2 separate regions of the Homo sapiens genome follow, and region 1 is linked to region 2. Evidence: promoter capture Hi-C in human tissues and cell types (Jung and others, 2019). All regions are on one chromosome and are shown on one strand. Each heading gives the region's core, a stretch centred on a gene start or on the middle of the fragment in contact. The rest is flanking DNA. Distances are from core to core; before and after follow the strand shown.

Region 1 (2,700 bases), core at 122-2,621, 140 kb before region 2:
TGACAGAAAAATAATTTTGCTCCTGAGAAAAATTTTCTAATGAATACACATATATTTGTTCAAATTCTCAAGTTATTTGACTCTGCCAAATTTTCCTCTTTCTTTATAGGTCACGTTATCATACTCCAGAGATTGGAAAGGGGAGATATTTATTTAGTAAGTTGGAGACTATAGATTAATTTCTTACCGACCACCATCAGTGTGAACTCAAAACCTTTTTTCACTGATTTTCGGTGAACTTGATTGGGGAGGTTTGCAAATCCAACATAGCCAGGTGTTTCTGGATTTATAAACTGAGTTGGCTGTTGCTAAATAAGATTAAAAAACAAACAAACTAATAAACACCTTAGTAGTTGCTTTTAAGATATAATCAGTTAGACATGAAACAAACATAGGTTATCAGTTTTCACAAATTTTTTAAAAAGTATAAACACTTCCAGAAGGTCATACTTCTATCAGAAAACCAGTAGTATTCAACTAGGAGCATTAAAAAAAGAAAAACTTATCTAGTATAACTCCTTAGTTGTATGCGACTGAAAATTAACATTTTGTTAATCAGTATTCTGTTTAGGAATTTAACAATACATAGAAGATACATGCTTAATACATCTTAATGCAATTTCAAATTTCGACTTGAGAGACTATGGAGTTCCAGGAAAATCAGTCAAGCTTACAAAGTACTGCTACAGCTGACAGTACTTTGAATGAATGGTTTCATTCAACAAACTTGGCTAAAGAATAGCTTCTCCCAGGTATTAGGTGCAATGCATTTCTGAAAAGTATCGAGGAAAAAAGCATCTCTCTTGCTGTGCTTCTAGCTCTATAGAACAGAGTTTCATCAAGGGTGAGGCAGGCAAATTAGGGGTGGGATGTTGAGTATCTAGTGTCAAAGACCAAGAAAGAAAAGACAGAATGAGAAGATCATAGATGACTACACTGAAGCATCAATATTCCTTGACAGAAGGGTATCTGATGAGAGAGAGGACAGAGATATGAGAAGGCAAGAATAGCAGAAGTAACCAGAATCTAGACAGTGGCATACTGAAAATGAGAAGAAATTTTAAAAATCAATTTATTAATTGAAAAAGGCAAGATACAAAATAGTATTTCCTTTAGGATTACATTTTGTAAATGTATAGTCAAATGCACACACAGGTGAAAAAGAATATATGTAACATATTAACAGTGGTTATTCCTGAGTGGTGAAATAATGACTTTTTTTTTTGCTTATCTGTGTTCCATGCTAACACTGGTATAAAATGCAAAAACTGGTATGATGATTTTGCATTGGACAGTAATGAACACCCACAGGATTCAAAGATAAAAAAAAAACAGAAATAATAATCTTGCAATGTTAACCACAAGTTCTGCTTTTCTCAGAATATGTTCTTTAGCACTAATTTATCTCTGAACTAACTTGCAAAGGCTGATTTAAACCAATTTATCAAGTCTAAGAGCCCCATCAATTTCATCATAATAAATTATCAGAATTCTAAATTATCTGGTCTGCTGGGAATGAACTAAGGGGGCCAAAAGGACTGTTACTGATGTGTGTAGAGAAAAGAAAGTAGAAGCCTGAAAAAAGAGAAAGCTCCAAGCTTTTAAGATGACAATTAGGCCAGGCACGGTGGCTCACACCTGTAATCCCAACACTTCGGGGGGCCAAAGCGGGTGGATCACGAGGTCAACAGATCAAGGCCATCCTGGCCAACACGGTGAAACCCCGAATTTACTAAAATCCAAAAAATTAGCCAGCGTGGTGGCACGTGTCTGCAGTCCCAGCTACTCCGGAGGCTGAGCCAGGGGAATCGCTTGAACGTGGGAGGCAGAAGTTGCAGTGAGCTGAGATCATGCCACTGCACTCCAGCCTGGTGACAGAACAAGACTCCCGTCTCAAAAAAAAAAAAAAAAAGACAACTAAATTAGAACTCTTTGTGTTAATGAATCAAATGTATCAGTTGTATTAAAAATAATGAATCATATAAGTCCCGACTGTCAACAGTCTGAAAACATAAAGCAATTTCTCCTTATGCTGTAGATACATGAAGTATGATCTTACCTTAGACATCTTTTGTGAAGCTTCGTCTGTTAAAAAAAAAACACACAGACACACATAAACGCACATACATAGTATGTATGTATACGCACGTATATTTAACAGCGTGAACTGACCTGAAGAAGACTTACACATACATAGGCAATGTAAAAAGAAAATACAATTTCAGGACCTTCCAAATGCATTAGGCCAAAGGGAAAAGTTAAGCACTGACAGCTGGCTCGTGTAACATCACTACTTTTATTCTTTCTGACTTTTGTGTTTAGATGTATATATTAACCAGACCCCCTATTCTTTATTCAAAACTAGACTAAATGACTGGGAGATGAGAGATCCTTATGACTGTTACTTCTTTACAAAAGGAAGTTAAACAAATCCCTTCAAGTGTAATCAATAGTAGCCAATCAAATTTGTATCTTTAAATGAGCCTTAGTTCCGAAAATGTTATAATTCTGTTTGGCACCTCCATTTTGCCTATATAAACAATCCTCATTTTTCCCCACCCTGGGAGCGCTAATCACCATTCTTTGGTGTAGCTCGCTTACACTCTGTACTTAAATGAATTCTTTTAACTGAATCAGGAGCCTTTTGATTATTTTAGGTGACAGCATCTCAATTACTTCAAATATTTCCCTAGGAATAAG
Region 2 (2,700 bases), core at 172-2,671:
TGCTGTCCTCTTCCTGGGCCCGTCGCCGCAGCATCCTGCTCCTGCACCCAGCAAGGCCGGGTGGGGATGGGGGTCAGAGAGGGGATGGGTGAGACCCGTTCCTGGGGCCACCACACTGCCTGCAGTGAGCTCACTTTACAGACTCGACTCGGAGTAGAATGGGGCTGGGCTGGCTCGGCAGACTCTCCTGGCCATGAGCACATGGAGAACCCCCTAGCCAGCCACGAGCTCCAGGAAGAAACCAGTGCCGGGGCGGGAGCGTCTGGCAGGCCTGGCACAGCAGGCGTCTGTCTGTCCATCCAGTGAGTGCCCGTGTCCCCCAGCCCTGAATGCCGTCCACTCTGCCTGGGTACTCAGTGGAGCCTGAGAAGGCCCAGAAAGGTGGGCCTGGAGTACAGACACCTCTCCCTCTCTTATCCGTAGGGTGGAGCCATGTGAGCCAGGGACAGGAAACCCCTCAAGTCGCCTGCCTTCGCTCATGGCCTGAGGACCCAGTGCCAGGACCCATAGGCCCTGAGCTCCCCAGCAAGGCGGGCCTGATGGAGCCCGGCCTCACAACTCTTGGGGGTCCCAGCTTCCTCCCGCACCTTCGCCCCGGGGGTCTCTCTCTGTGGGAGGACAGGTGCCGTGGCTCCTAGTCTTGGGCTGGCAAAACGGGGCCAGGAGCACGACATCTGTGGCCCTGGAAGGAGAGGGTTCGAGCTGGGGCTGGCATTTGGAGCTGCGACGATGACCGGAGGGTGTGACCATGGAGGCGCCGCAGGAGGTCGGAGGGGCAGCCTTCTAGTTCTACCCTTCACTTCACATTAGCGGAGGCCCAGAGGGACAGAGACTGAGCCTGGGCCGCCTGCACCTGCCTAACCCTGAAGCCCGAGCCAGGTCTCAGTGTTAGGACTCGGCCCCGGCCCCAGGCTGGGAGCCTCACTACGGACTGTGGGGTGTTCCTGGAGGAAAGTCCCCGAGGAGTTTCGGCCACCCAGCAGCCCCTCATGCCCCCATCCTTCTGTGGTGGGCAGGCGGGCCCCTCCTCAGAGCTCTCTGCAGAAAGAATGGGGATGCCCCCCACCCCAACGAAGGGACCTGCTCCATGGGGGAGCCCCTGGGCAGGCAGGAAGCCAACCCCAGCTGGGTGTACCCCGTCCAGAGCCGCACTGAGTGTGTGTCCCTCCTCGTGCCCCAAGGGGCTTTGGGGACCAGGGCGGGCCCTGGCACTGCCTCCCCACAGGCCAGGGTGTGTGAAAGTCCCGGTGGGCTGGGGTGCCGCCCTGCCTCCCTAGAGTCCAACGCTCCACCTTCTCCCTGTGGCCCACACGTCTAGGCTGGGTCCCCACCTGGCACAGTGGCTTCCGGAAGAGGTCTCGGAGGTCATGGCCCACCTCTCAGCGTGAGCCTGGTCTCGGCAGTAGAGTCCCGTCCTCACTGCGGGACAGAGGGTGGGGAGGGGTGGCCCTTGGAGCCCCGCCCAGGCAGTGGCAGCCATTCGCATGCCCTCACCTTGCCTGCAAGTGGGCCAGGAAGCAGGCAGGGGAGGTGCCCAGCACAGCTGGCCAGGGCAAGGCTTCCCGGCTCCTGGAGCAGGATCTATCTTTGTTTAAATAGGGGGTGTGGGGCTCAGAGCTGCAGACAGAGGCAGCCCACTTGGCTGGGCTTTCACACACCCGCATGCAAATGCTGCCGTCCTCCTGGGAACCTTATTTGCTTAGAGATTTCAGGGCTGGCATCAGCTGTCATAGTTGCTGCCTTGGAGGGTCTCGAGGAGGTGGGATTCCACAGGAACAGCCACAAGTGCCACCTCTGCTGGAAGCCTTGCCAGGCAGACCTCGTAAGCTCTGTTTATGTGGGGGGAAACTGAGGCTCCTTGAGGTTACGTAGCATGTGCTGAGTGGTGGGCCAGGGTTTCACCCGGGGGCTGGGGAGATTGGGAGACCCAGATCACACTGCTGGCTCTGCTAATGCCTGAGGGGTGACCTCAGGCACATCCCATGCTCAGGGCCCCATCTGCAAAAGGACAGGAGGGGTCCTAGCCTTCCTCCCATCCTTTCCGCCCTCCTCCTCGTCCTCATTCTCCTCCTAGCCCTCCTCTTTCTCCTCCTAGCCCTCCTCCCCCTCCTCCTTTCTCCCCCTCCTCCTATCCTTTCTCCCCACCTTCCCTCTCCTCCTTCTCCTCCTATTGTTTCTCCCCCCTACTCCTCCCTCTCCTTCTCCTCCTATCCGTTCTCCCCTCTCCCTCTCCTCCTATCATTTCTCCCCCCAACTCCTCCTCCTCCTCCTCTTTCTCCCCACTCCCCCTCCTCCTATCGTTTCTCCCCCTCCCCCCCACTTCTCCCTCTCCTCTTCCTTCTCCTCCTTTCTCCCCACTCCCCTCCTCCTGTTTCTCCCCCTCCCCCCACTTCTCCCTCTCCTCCTCCTTCTCCTCCTATCCTTTCTCCCCGCCCCTCCTCTTCCCCTCTCCCTCCCCCTCCCCCTTTCCTCCTTGGTGCCTGGCAGTGTCTGAGAACCTACCACCCGTGCTCCTCGCCCTCCATGCACAACTGCACTGGGGAGCCCCAAGCTCAGCTTGCTGTTCCAGGTGCCCCCTTCTGCCTGTTGAAATCCCTCCAGGCGGACCCTCATCCTGGCTGCAGCTTTCCCTTATACCTATGCCCCTCTGTGCTTGGCACCTCCCAAGGGGCCCTGTTCTTGGACCTGTGTTGTGCCTCG

Evidence for each region. The method cuts DNA at HindIII sites, captures the fragments that hold promoters and counts their contacts. A contact is called where the count stands out against the background at its distance.
Region 1: a fragment that was not itself captured here is called in contact with the fragment with the promoter of ANO7 in region 2 in 2 of the 25 tissues and cell types used here (bladder and pancreas).

The regions. Positions count from the first base shown.
Region 1 is chr2:241,323,601-241,326,300 of GRCh38, reverse strand. It overlaps SEPTIN2 (septin 2), which reads right to left. Exons shown (of 13, transcript NM_004404.5): 2 at 2,060-2,085; 3 at 188-308. The coding sequence starts at 2,068. Among named protein-coding and RNA genes, the nearest start is that of SEPTIN2, 9.0 kb to the right of the region's middle. The HindIII fragment of the contact is 3,359 bases long and covers 1-2,700 here.
Region 2 is chr2:241,187,398-241,190,097 of GRCh38, reverse strand. It overlaps ANO7 (anoctamin 7), which reads right to left and starts at 1,421. Exons shown (of 25, transcript NM_001370694.2): 1 at 1,332-1,421; 2 at 1-41. The coding sequence starts at 34. It overlaps LOC105373971 (a long non-coding RNA gene), which reads left to right and starts at 1,676. Exons shown (of 3, transcript XR_924064.3): 1 at 1,676-1,822. RefSeq lists enhancers at 783-1,466, 1,467-2,151. The HindIII fragment of the contact is 24,444 bases long and covers 1-2,700 here.